Linked DNA regions of Homo sapiens: region 2 is linked to region 1. Evidence: promoter capture Hi-C in 16 types of primary human blood cells and fetal thymus (Javierre and others, 2016). All regions are on one chromosome and are shown on one strand. The core of a region is centred on a gene start or on the middle of the fragment in contact, and the rest is flanking DNA. Distances in the headings are between cores, read along the strand shown.

Region 1 (6,086 bases), core at 199-2,698:
AGAAATGTGTAAAACTAGGCCAGGCGTGGTGTTGCTCACACCTGTAATCCTAGCACTTTGTGAGGCTGAGGTGGGAGGACAGCTTGAGCTCAGAAATTTGAGATCAGCCTAGGCAACATAGTGAGACCCTGTCAGAAAGAAAAGAAAAAAGAAAAGAAAAGAAGGAAAGAAAGAGAAAGAGAAAGAAAGGGAGAAAGAAAGAAAGAGAGCAAGAGAGAAAGAAAGAGGAAAAAGAAAGGAAGAAAGAGAAAGAAACAGAGAGAGAAAGAAAGGGAGAAAGAAAACAGAAAGAGAGAGAAAGAAAGAAAGAGAAAGAAAAAAAGAAAGAGGAAAGAAGGAAGGAAGGAAGGAAGGAAGGAAAGAAGGAAGGAAGGAAGGAAGGAAGGAAGGAAGGAAGGAAGGGAGTAAAGCTGTGTTTCTCAACTGGGGAGTGATTCCAACCCCTGCCCCCAGGAGACATTTGGCAATGACTGGAGACATTTTTGTTATGACTGGGTTTGGTGGGGGGGGGGTGGCTACAGGCATCTAGTGTGTAAACGCCAGGGACACTGCTAAATATCCTAAAATTCACAGGACAGCCCCTCTAACGTAAGACTTAGCAGGCCCAAAATATCAATAGGGCTGAGGTTGGTAACCTCTGGTATAGAGCCAGCAAAATATCTTCTACAAGAGACAGGGAAGTGGGTAAAGCTTGGTTTGGGGATGAGGGGGTGGTTAGGGAAGAGTTTAGTAAAGAGATAATGACGGGGGTGTGGGGGAAGGGAAACTCCCATCCGAAGGGACAACATATACAAAGCTGCAGAAGCGTGACATATTTGGGCGATCCCAAACACTGGGGAAAGAGCTGTGGTCATTAAGTCTGGACAGCTAGGCAGGAGCTAGACGTGCAAGAAATCATATTGAGTTAGAGGAACTACTGTAAGAAAAACTGTTTGGCTCTGTGGTGGCTCTTTATAAGTCACTCAGGAGCACAGTGTTGGTACATCTCTCTGCGAGCTAAAACTGCTGAAGAAAGCTGTATGAAATGAAGCTTTTTTCATCCTGCTTTCTTAGGGCCTGGTGTTTCCCAGGCCTGTGTTACTGTCTCAGAGATAAAATCAGGGCTGCTTCATTGGAATATGAGAGGTGAACTAGCTCTCTATTAAAGCCACTCAGCTGGTGTCTTGATGGTGTGATGGGATCATGAACAGGGGTGAGGTGGTTATTTTTCATGAGTTAGGCTTAATATAGGCTGCTGCTGACGTGTATTTCCTCTTTCATAGAGCATCCTTAGTCCAGAAATGGGGAGCTATGAACCTTAAGATTAGACCACTAACTCGAATCTAAATGAGCTGCCCTTGTCTCCTACAAAAGAAAAGTTGGGCAGGTAGGGTATTCTAATGAGGGTTTCTCTTTCTCTTAAGCAAATGATGATCAAAGTTAACTGACAAACTGTCACGGAATCTGCCAGACCTCACTCTGGCCTTGCTGCTTCTCTCCAGCTCCTGAACTTTTCTTTCTTCCATCATGCTCTGAGCCCATTCCTTGAAAACTAAAAGGTCCCTGACTCCCAGTCTGCAGCCATCCTGGGCCTGCTGAGCTCTGATTCAAGTGCCTGCCTCTGCCCCTTGGTGGGCTGAAGCTTCATGGAGGTGAGTGACCCTTTTTTTTTTTAACTTAGCAGGGCTTCTAGGAATAGTGTGGAAAACAGGATCATAGAAGAGGATATGGATTTAGGAGCACAAAAGGAAATTCATGAAGGGAAGTATTTAACTTGTGACAGCTGGTAGCTACTATACTCTCTCCAAGCCTTGGAATAACTGATAATTTATACTAGAGAAGCTGGTAGGAAAGTAATGAAATCCACCAAAACATTTTGAGAAAAAATAAACTATATACTATATACAATTTACTTTCATTATCAATGTAATCATTTTATTTTAGATTTAAAAATTATTATGTATAACTTGGTTTGCTTACAATACCTTCACATTTGATTATTTTATATTTAAGGCAGAGTTGATACTTAGATAGTAAACATTTTTAATTGAATTCTTCCTTTAAGACCTCTTCAGAGCTAAAATAAAGGAAGTTATGTTCTTCTGAACTTAGTGTTTTCCTGATTGTCAAACAAAAGAAAATGGTTATTTACTACATGAAAGCTTGAAAAACTCACTAAGGGTTTTTCAGGGGCCCTTGAATCCTGAGTTATCATCCATTTCCACTAGTTTCCACTTCTTATAAAGTTTAATTTCATTATATTAATCATTAAGATCAGTTTCTAATTTCCTCTATCATAGGACCTTTAGGTTTGCTGCTACTCATCTCTGTGCTTAGCTATTGAAGCAAACAGGGCTATAAGCATTTTGTTTATAATTTCTAGGGCAAAAATAAACACTATTGCCTAAACCTACTATATTCTTATTACTTTAAGGCCAAGTCAGTGAAAATAGACACTTTTCCATAATAGTAAAAAAATTGTTTGTGTGATAGTGAGTTTCCCATTACTTCAGATGTTCAGGCAGAGGTTGGAAAGGAGTGAATTAAATGGCTTAAAATTTCTTTCAACTCTGGGAAGCTCCAAGAAGTCAGAAAGTTCAGAATCTTGCCTTCTTATGTGCAAATGGCTTGACTCGTGAAGCAGGAGTGTGTCTTGCTCTTAGGTTTAAGCTGGCTGTGCTATATAGTTTGTCTCTGTGGATGAACTGTATTTTTCTGCTCTCAAAGTTAATTCTTCATAAAAACTGCCCATCAAAGTTTAAAAATTACTTTGAAGGAATAAAGGTTGAAAAGCAACAAATGAACTCTCCTTAGATATCTTAACTATGATTTCAAAAATTTACAACACAAAACTTCTCAGGAAAAAAAAATCTCTGGTAAAAATTAAGGATTTCTTATGCAAGCTTCCATGGACTTCATAGCTCTTTGCCTTTTCTCTGCTCTTTGAGAATGTGCACAGTGAACTGAAGGAGGAAGATACATACTTTCTTTCTTTCTTTTTTTTTTTTTTTTTTTTTTAGGACAGAGTCTCACTCTCTTGCTCAGGCTGGAGTGCAGTGGCACCATCTCAGCTCACTGCAACCTCCGCTTCCAGGGTTCAAGTGATTCTCATGCCTCAGCATCCCAAATAGCTGGGACTGCAGGGACGCACCACCACGCCTGGCTAATTTTTGTATTATTATTTTTTTTTTTAGTAGAGATGAGGTCTCACCATGTTACCCAGGCTTGTCTCCAACTCCTGACCTCAGGTGATCCTCCTGCCTCAGCCTCCCAAAGTGAGGCTAAGATTACAGGCCTGGGCCATCGTGACCTGCTGATGTGCTTTCTTATAAAGTGATTCCTGCCAGCCAGGGCTTTATAAGGATGAATATCAATTCCTGACTCGAGTTTCTCTCTCTCTGCCTTAAGGTTAGACTTCTTCCCCTAAAAGGGGCTGGCAGTAGATGTGTTTCCTAAAAGATTTCCAGGTCCAGAAATTTTAGACTCTCATTTGGTTTCCAATTCTATAGCTCCCTCTAGAGCAGTAGGAAGTTATTGCAGATATTTTGCTTCACAAATTTGATCCATTTAATAAATTCAATTCCACAAAACATATTGATGGGCTCTCTGCTGACTCAGTGGTTAATAGGCTTTGGGGTCAAATAAAGAGTTCAAATCTGAGACCCACTACTTAATAATTGTGACTCTGGGAAGATACTTGAAGCAATCTGAGCTTCAGTTTCCTTAAAATATGTAGTAATAATACGTATTTCATAGGGTTGTTCTGAGATTAAATGAAATAATGTATGTAAATCCTCTTCCACAGTGAATGCTCAGTAAATATTAGCTAATATAATTAATCCCTTGTTTTACAGAAAAGGATATATTATTGAAAGTCAGGGGAATTGGCAAACCCTCAGCTAGCAAGATGAATTAACCATATAAAACCAGTCAATCATATAATATCAATAATTAATAACATTAAATATATTTTCATATCATATAACTCACCCTTTTGAAGTTTACAATTCAGTGATTTATAGCATATTCACAAAGTTGTACAATTATCACCACTATCTAATTCCAGAACATTTTCATTATCCCCAAAAGAAATTCCATACCCATTATCAGTCACTTCCCGTTCCTCTTTGCCCTGCCTTGGTAACCGCTATATATTTTAAACATACTTTAAAAACACACGGAGGGGGCAGCCAAGATGGCTGAATAGGAACAGCTCTGGTCTACAGCTCCCAGCGTGAGCGATGCAGAAGACGGGTGATTTCTGCATTTCCATCTGAGGTACCAGTTTCATCTCACTAGGGAGTGCCAGACAGTGGGCGCAGGACAGTGGGTGCAGCGCACCGTGCGTGAGCCGAAGCAGGGCGAGGCATTGCCTCACTCGGGAAGCGCAAGGGGTCAGGGAGGTCCCTTTCCTAGTCAAAGAAAGGGGTGACAGACGGCACCTGGAAAATTGGGTCACTCCCACCCTAATACTGTGCTTTTCCGACGGGCTTAAAGAACGGTGCACCAGGAGATTATATCCTGCACCTGGCTCGGAGGGCCCTACGCCCATGGAGTCTCGCTGATTGCTAGCACAGCAGTCTGAGATCAAACTGCAAGGCGGCAGCGAGGCTGTGGGAGGGGCGCCCACCATTGCCCAGGCTTGCTTAGGTAAACAAAGCAGCCGGGAAGCTCGAACTGGGTGGAGCCCACCACAGCTCAAGGAGGCCTGCCTGCCTCTGTAGGCTCCACCTCTGGGGGCAGGGCACAGACAAACAAAAAGACATCAGTAACCTCTGCAGACTTAAATGTCCCTGTCTGACAGCTTTGAAGAGAGCAGTGGTTCTCCCAGCACGCAGCTGGAGATCTGAGAATGGGCAGACTGCCTCCTCAAGTGGGTCCCTGACCCCTGACCCCCTAGCAGCCTAACTGGGAGGCACCCCCAAGTAGGGGCAGACTGACACCTCACATGGCCGGGTACTCCTCTGAGACAAAACTTCCAGAGGAATGATCGACAGCAGCATTCGCGGTTCACGAAAATCCACTGTTCTGCAGCCACCGCTGCTGATACCCAGGCAAACAGGGTCTGGAGTGGACCTCTAGCAAACTCCAATAGACCTGCAGCTGAGGGTCCTGTCTGTTAGAAGGAAAACTAACAAACAGAAAGGACATCCATACCAAAAACCCATCTGTACATCACCATCGTCAAAGACCAAAAGTAGATAAAACCGCAAAGATGGGGAAAAAACAGAGCAGGAAAACTGGAAACTCTAAAAAGCAGAGCGCCTCTCTTCCTCCAAAGGAACGCAGTTCCTCACCAGCAACAAAACAAAGCTGGATGGAGAATGACTTTGACAAGTTGAGAGAAGAAGGCTTCAGATGATCCAACTACTCCGAGCTACAGGAGGAAATTCAAACCAAAGGCAAAGAAGTTAAAAACTTTGAAAAGAATTTAGATGAATGTATAACTAGAATAACCAATACAGAGAAGTGCTTAAAGGAGCTGATGGAGCTTGCTGTATTCAGGAAACCCATCTCACATGCAGAGACACACATAGGCTCAAAATGAAAGGATGGAGGAAGATCTACCAAGCCAATGGAAAACAAAAAAAGGCAGGGGTTGCAATCCTAGTCTCTGATAAAACAGACTTTAAACCAACAAAGATCAAAAGAGACAAAGAAGGCCATTACATAATGGTAAAGGGATCAATTCAACAAGAAGAGCTAACTATCCTAAATATATATGCACCCAATACAGGAGCACCCAGATTCATAAAGCAAGTCCTGAGTGACCTACAAAGAGACTTAGACTCCCACACAATAATAATGGGAGATTTTAACACCCCACTGCCAACATTAGGCAGATCAACGAGACAGAAAGTTAACAAGGATACCCAGGAATTGAACTCAGCTCTGCACCAAGCGGACCTAATAGACATCTACAGAACTCTCCACCCTAAATCAACAGAATATACATTTTTTTCAGCACCACACCACACCTATTCCAAAATTGACCACATAGTTGGAAGTAAAGCTCTCCTCAGCAAATGTAAAAGAACAGAAATTATAACAAACTGTCTCTCAGACCACAGTGCAATCAAACTAGAACTCAGGATTAAGAAACTCAC
Region 2 (7,076 bases), core at 3,859-6,358, 290 kb after region 1:
GATCCCAGCTGGTTCCCCTCGGGGTGTGGGGGCAGCAGGTAGTGGCTGTTGCGAAGGGCAGGGATCTAGTCGTGTGCCTCCCGGAACCTAGCCCCGTGGCTGGCACGTGGCCGGTGCCCAGGACGGTTGCAAACTGTTTGAATGAAGCTTTCTCTCTCCTTTGCCAGCTGCAGATTCATAGTCCAGCCTCTTGTCATTGACCTTTCCAAAGGAAATGCTAAGGCTGTCTGAATTATCGGGGCAGACCGTGCAGAGCAGAGAAAGGGGGGCCAGAGGACACTTAGAAACAGCAGAACTTGTATTTAACTCCCTTGCTTGGGACTGATAAACCTCCCTTGCAGGATTATGATGATCACAAGAGTACTCAGCACTTAGTACGTGCTCAGGAAGTGCCAGCTCCTTCTCCTTTCCTTCCAGTCTAGGCCTCCATCTCCAGAACCCCTGCTGTTCCCCTTGCCTGTGCCAGACTTGTGGATCTTGATAGCTCCCTTGTCTGTAAGGATCCTTCTCTCCCTAAGACCCTGTCTGGTTCACTTTCCAGCAGTTTTTCTTTCCAATCCCGTGCCTCTGTCCCTTTAGGAGCATTCTGTATGTGTGTCCTCTGCCTTAGACCCTGCCTTTTGCTCCCTGGCTTGTGGCACCAAAGTTTAGGAAGTGGCTGAGTCAGCAGCCTAGTCATGCCAAGCCTCCCTTGACAAAGTCCCTCTCAGATGGGCCTGGGATGGCAGTGGGTATGTGGGATGAGTGCCAGCCATCTCTGCTGCTCCCCTGTACCTCTTTTCCCTCAAAGTACATGCGTCAGTATGTAAACTGCAGTAATTCAGAAGCTTATCCAGGTTAGCAGTTCTTGACTATTTAAGAATCTGTGGTGTCCCCTCCACAGAATGCAAATAGACTGAGTTTGGCAACAATTTCAGACTGCTCAAGGACTCCCTTTAAGCCGCTCTAAGCCCCTCTATAGAACCCTTGTCCCAGCTGACTCTCCATCTCCTCAGTTGAAGAAAGTACCATACCCAAGGTGATAGGTTTTGTTAGTTAACAGAGCCACGACAAGGACTCAGATGTTCAGACTCCCCATTCTAGTGCTCATTCCACTCTTTGGAGCCTCCACCCAAGGTCCTGAATTAAAGTGAGGCTGTTAGTGTTTACTGTTGCAAATGCCAGATGGTATTATGAGTAAGGGAAAGTGGTCCAGCTCTACCCAGCTTGCAGAGTGATTTCCAACTCAGTACTTCATTCCACAAACATTCACTCATGAAAGGGTGCCTGCCATGTGCCAGGCACTGGGCTGAGGGCCCAGAAAGGAGGACACAGCCCCTGCTCCCAAGTTTACTGAGGGAGGCAGACAGATAAAGTCAACAATTATGACAGAGCCCGAGGGCTTTGATGGAGGCCTCAGAGAGAAAAGACGCCACAGGGAGGGGCCCTTGGCCCTCTATCTGCTCAGAGCCTGCTTAAAAGTCATGCACCTAAGGTGCAGAAACACAGTTAAGTTCTCCTTCATCTTACCTCAAACTCATGGTCTTCCACTGCTCAGGCAGACTACCTCTACTATGGTTCCGTAGACAAAGCTTTGAAGATTAGAGCAGCAGCGAACTAACCTTGATCTCATCAGCTTTGCATTAGAACCCACTCTCTGACTGGATTAGGGGCTAGGTTGGGGTGGCTGTAACCTGAAGTATCTAGAAAATATGATGGGCTAGAGAATTTCACCTTTGGTTGTGTGCTGGAACACTAGCTGGGTAAAAGAGTTCAGAGGAGGATTTAGGAAAACACCTAGGCTCAGTTTGAGAATGGGAAGTGGTAGCGTCATTTACTAGTCAGAGTAGATTAAAATGATGAGATCAGGTTTGAAAAGTTGAGTTTAAGATGTCTCTGGAGGCCAGGTGTGGTGGCTGATGCCTGTAATCCCAGCACTTTGAAAGGCCAAGGTAGGCAGATCGCTTGAGGTCTGGAGTTTGAGACCAACCTGGCCAACACGGTGAAACTGTCTCTACTATAAATACAAAAATTAGCTGGGTGTGGTGCCACATGCCTGTAATCCCAGCTACTTGGGAAGCTGAGAATCGCTTGAGTCTGGGAGTCAGAGATTGCAATGAACTGAGATCGTACCACTGCACTCCAGCCTGAATGACAGCAAAACTATGTCAAAAAAAAAAAAAAAAAAAAGATGTCTCTGGGACAGGACACAAGGTGCCTTTGAGAAATTTCCTTGGGTGCAGGGGTCTGGAGTGCAGGGATACTATCAGGGGTGGAAATGTAAACTCAGGAGTCCTTTGCTCCTCTACTGAGCAGTACTGCACTGCCCCGCCACCCAGGAGACATTTGGAAATGTGTCAGGGAGGCTTGGTTGTCACGATGACTGAGGAGCACTACTGCGGACTTTATTCAGTTCATAGTGCTATCTTGCACAACAAAGAGTTGTCCTGTCCCAAATAGTGCCCTATGGGGAATTATGGATGGCTGAGCTTGCCTGGGCTGAGTGAACCATGTAGAGTGAGAAGGAAAGAAGAGGAGGACATTACCCTGGAGAGAGCCCCAACACTGGAGGGGAAAGGGCAGAAAGAGTTGTCAGCAGAGGAGACCCACTGTGCTGCCTCAGGTGCACCTGCAGCTCAACACAGACCTTCTGGGCCCTCGCCACTCCTTCTCAGGCATGGTCTTCCACCAGCACCTCCACAGTGCCCAACCCAGACCCCGAGTGTGGTATCACTGCTCCTCCATCTTTTCCTTAAGACAAATAGGCTCAGTGGCTTGGGTTTGGGGTCAGTAGTAAACCAGAGATAGCAACTAGGAGGAACAATCCTGGGGAAGCTTTGAGGGGAACCACCCATTTTCCTCTCTGCAAGAGGACCAAAATGAAACCCAGAATTTCCTGGGCTTAATAAATTGTCAGCAAATGCATTTTGGGGGGAAAAAAGCCTTGGTTGGATATGAACTACAAAAAAGATAAGAGGAAGTGGGGAGAATTTGACTGTTTTCTTCTTTTGATGTAAGACCACCAGCCACAGATTAAAAACCCTTCCATTTCTGGCTGGCTGGGGAACTGCAGCCCAGCAAACTGTGGCCGATTTAGGTATACAGGGGGGCAGGGTCTACTGATAAAATGGTTCAGTGCCTCAGGAACTCCTATGAAGGGAGTTGTTTGGGGAAACTCTCATTCCTAAGATCTTTTCAAAAAATGTATAAATTTTCAAGGGAAAAGTGTATCATTTAACTTACATCATTATTTGCTTTCCAAAAAGTGTATAAATCATTCCTAAAATCTGAAGCAGGTTTCCAAAGCATTCTGAAGCAGGAAGCAATGTCTCAACCTTTCCCACTGCTGCCATCCTACTTGAGATAAGGCCAGGAACCAGCCAGCGTCTGGGGCAGTGGTTCTGTGGGGGAATGCGACCTTAGTCCACTTTACTTGTCCTTTAACTGGCAGGAAGGAAACCTACCACACAGCCTCCCTACTGCCTAAGGAGACTGCACCATTCTCTTCTTTCTTGATGTATGGCTGCACGGAACAAAAAATTAAACTCCTCACCTACTAATTAGTTAATGATCACCTTGACCACAGCAAGGAGGAGCATTTATAAATTGGGTGGTAAGTCAGACACACACTAAGACCAGTGGTTTTCTTTTATAGTTAGGAGAACAAAACGAAACAACAATCTGAGACTTAAGGATTTTCGCTTTTCCCTTCATTTTGAATAGAGAAAGTTTGAGAGTTGGAGGGAGGAAAAGGGACTGATGACCAAGTTGATGTATAAAGAAGCAAACAGTGTCAGCTTGCTGGGGTTCTCTCTAAATGGAAATAGTACGAAGTTCCCAAACCAGGCTGGGGAGCCAGAGTGGGGTTTAGTCCCCCTTCTACTGCTGCTAGTTGTATGACTCAACAAATTATTTTCCACTTCAACTTCCCCGTGAAATGGGGATAATGGTAGTATTCATCTTTGGTTGTATGAGGATTCAGTGGAACCAATTGTGCGTGTGAAAGGCCTAGCACAGCATTTAGCACACTGTTAATGGTATGTGCTAACTGTGGAGATAAGCAGGAAGCCAGAGCCCCTGAGGACGGACACTTAAACCATATCAGCTTAAAAAGAGGTGGATGGAGACCAGGGCCTTCAAACACATGAACAGTTTTCCTAACCAAATTATTATAATGTGGGCCCAGGCAATAATCTTGCTTTCCACTGTATTTACCAGTTTAATTACTGTATGCCCCTTTGATCAGTCTATTGAGACCCAGAAGCTTTTAATTAGGAAATGAATTATGGATTCATGAAGTTAGAATATAAAATAGTCAAATTAGTTTTTACCCCATAGAAGCTATGTTTGGTGGTGGGGGTGGTGGGAAGCTTGTTTTTACAATGTAGGGTTCACTCGAATGGTAAGGAAATGCGGGGAATTAATATATTGACTGCCTACTGCATTCCAGGCATGTGCTGGGAACTTTAATACAGGGCTTTACAAACTGTCCACAATGAAGGGCCAATTTTACTTTTTCCAGTCGGCCATGGACTGATATGTTTGCATCAATATATTTGAATGCTGTGTCACGTCAAAATGCTATAAACAGCCAGGCACGGTGGCTCATGCCTGTAACCCCAGCACTTTGGGAGGCCAAGGCGGGCAGATCACTTGAGGCCAGGAGTTTGAGACCAGCCTGGCCAACATGGCAAAAATCCTGTCTCTACTAAAAATACAAAAATTAACTGGGTGTGGTGGTGCACAACCTGTAATCCCAGCTACTCAGGAGGCTGAGGCACGAGAATCACTTGAATGGGGAGGCAGAGGTTGCAGTGAGCCAAGATCATGCCACTGCACTGCAGCGTGGGTGACAGAACAAGACTCTATCTCAAAACAAAAACAAACAAAAAAATTATATAAACATTTCTAAATGCTCCTCTCAATTTCTGTACATTGCATTACAAATCAGTTCATCAATCACCCTCTGAGTGCACTTTATCTCCCTTCTTCCTGAAAGCTGGCTCTTCCTTCAGGCAGGAGCATCTGAACAGGGAGAAGTATAGGAACAAAACAGGCTCCATTTCCAGGAAACAACACCATGGAGGGGATGTAGTCAGATTTTTGTTATGATCAGCTATATGAGGAGACAATAAATTAAAGGGAAAAATAATAATTTCAGAATGATGGGTTAATGTTGTTTAATTATAAAGGGCAGAAAAATTAATATATTGGCATCAAGTTTAAACATTACTCGGAGGTCCATGAAGATATTTCTTGAGTTTTTGTCCATTGAGGCAACGTATTATACCTTAGGTCAAAAGAATTGCTTTGACCTAAGCATTTTTAAATACTCTTATTTATTTTTAAAAATAAGATAAATCTATATCTGTAATACAGCACATTCAAAATGTCTATACTTTACTGTTAAGATTTTGGGGTGAGAAGCGGATGGTATAATGAGAGGGCATGAACATGGGCAGCTCAGATGGTCCTGTGCATCATGTCTGTTTCTCTGAGCCAGCTGCTTCTATGTGATCAGATTAAAGGGGCTGATAGTCATGAAGCAGGAGCTGGATTAAACCAGATTACCCTGATAGTGATGAGATGCAGGCTACTTAACCCTTACAAGTCAGAGACACTTGAGAGTGAAAAGAGAATGTGAAAATCCTCCAGAAAAAGAGAAATTGGGTAGCAGTAAGTAGCCCAAAGAACCATCTTTCTTGCTTTTATCTTAATTATGTTTTAACAACAAAACAAAACCCAAACTGGACATACCATTTCAAATTCAAAACAGGAAATTAAATCCAGTAAACACTCCCACCTCCACCAACAGCTCTGGAAAGGCAATGCCTTTGTCTGTGAAAGACCATGAGGCACAAAGGTAGCATTTTCCTCTCAAAGTGATGCAAGCTTTTTCTTGGCCCCTTCGCCAGACCTGTGGAGTACTGGGCCTACCGTGCTCAACCCCTTGTGGGAGGGAGCACATGAATGAGTGAGTGCGGGATCCAGCCAGCTGCTCCAGGCACTGACACAGGAGCAAGCTCCTTGAGGGGAATGCAGCAGCACCCAGGTAAGGGTGTCCATGACCCTGAAGCCCCAGAGGGGCTGTTACAGTGCTCCTTTATTTCCACCGTCTGCAGATGGTGGCATGTTAGCAGCTCAGTTGGCCCCTTGCCTCGCTGCACGGGGCATGCCACTGGTGAGGGGCAAAGGGCCAGTTTGACAGCCTTTTCTGGGTACCTGTACTTGGTGGGCCCTGAGCTCTTGTCCAGTGTCCAAGAAGAATGAGGTCACGCAGATGATTGAAGGATGGTGAAGGTGGAGAATTTTACTGAGCAATGAAAATGGCTTTCAGCAGAGAAGGGAACTGGAGAGGGGATGGGAAGGGCAGGTCATCTTCCCAGAAGTCAGGTTGTCTCCTCCCCGAAGTCAGGTCATTTCCCCCTCTACCAACTGAGTCTGGGATCTTTATAGGCACAGGATAGGAAGTGCGTATTGATGGGTTTGTGAGTATGCAAAAAAGGTTAACGTGAAGACACCATGCAAAGGTGGGCAAAACAGTGTAGAAAACTACTTAGGAAAGGTTAGGTATATGTAAAATAGGTGAAGGGTGGGGATCAATCAGAGGAAAGCGTCCAAACAGGAAGACAAGTTCTTGATCCAGTCCCAGGATTTAACTTGTAGCTTGGCTTTCCGGCTTTAAACTGTCTTCTACTTGGAGGTGGAATTTCACTGGGTACCCACCCCTATCTGCCTAGGCATTTGGCCACCTCCTTTTGCTATCAAAAGCAGGAGAAGAAGCAAGCAATATCACAAATAGGATTTTACCATTCCATAAAAGCAGCCCTATTCTAAGGGGAGACCCTAGAATTATGGATGTAGGGGAAATTTCTCTTTAAAACTGCACAACAGAAATTAAGAAGGAGGAGAAATATGTACACGTAGATACAATATTAGCATCTAACTTAGAAGTCTTTTAGTGTGGCTGTTGAAGCTGGCAGTTTTCCCCAAATCAGGTTTGCACTAAGAACATTAATTACCAGGGAAAATACATTCAAATTTTGCAAAGTAATATTCAACTCAACAATTTTAAAAAACACAGAAATATTCAATTA

Evidence for each region. Contacts are between HindIII fragments. The CHiCAGO score rates a contact against its expected background, and 5 or more counts as called.
Region 2: a fragment that was not itself captured here is called in contact with the fragment with the promoter of TRIM69 in region 1 in 1 of 17 cell types (fetal thymus); the score reaches 5.2 in fetal thymus.

Annotation. Positions count from the first base shown.
Region 1 is chr15:44,735,080-44,741,165 of GRCh38, forward strand. TRIM69 (tripartite motif containing 69) reads left to right here and starts at 1,449. Exons shown (of 7, transcript NM_182985.5): 1 at 1,449-1,631. The coding sequence starts at 1,626. The HindIII fragment of the contact is 591 bases long and covers 1,029-1,619 here.
Region 2 is chr15:45,023,476-45,030,551 of GRCh38, forward strand. All of the region lies in intron 1 of SORD (sorbitol dehydrogenase), which reads left to right. Among named protein-coding and RNA genes, the nearest start is that of SORD, 3.8 kb to the left of the region's middle. RefSeq lists an enhancer at 439-1,089 and a silencer at 2,233-2,521. The HindIII fragment of the contact is 1,522 bases long and covers 4,348-5,869 here.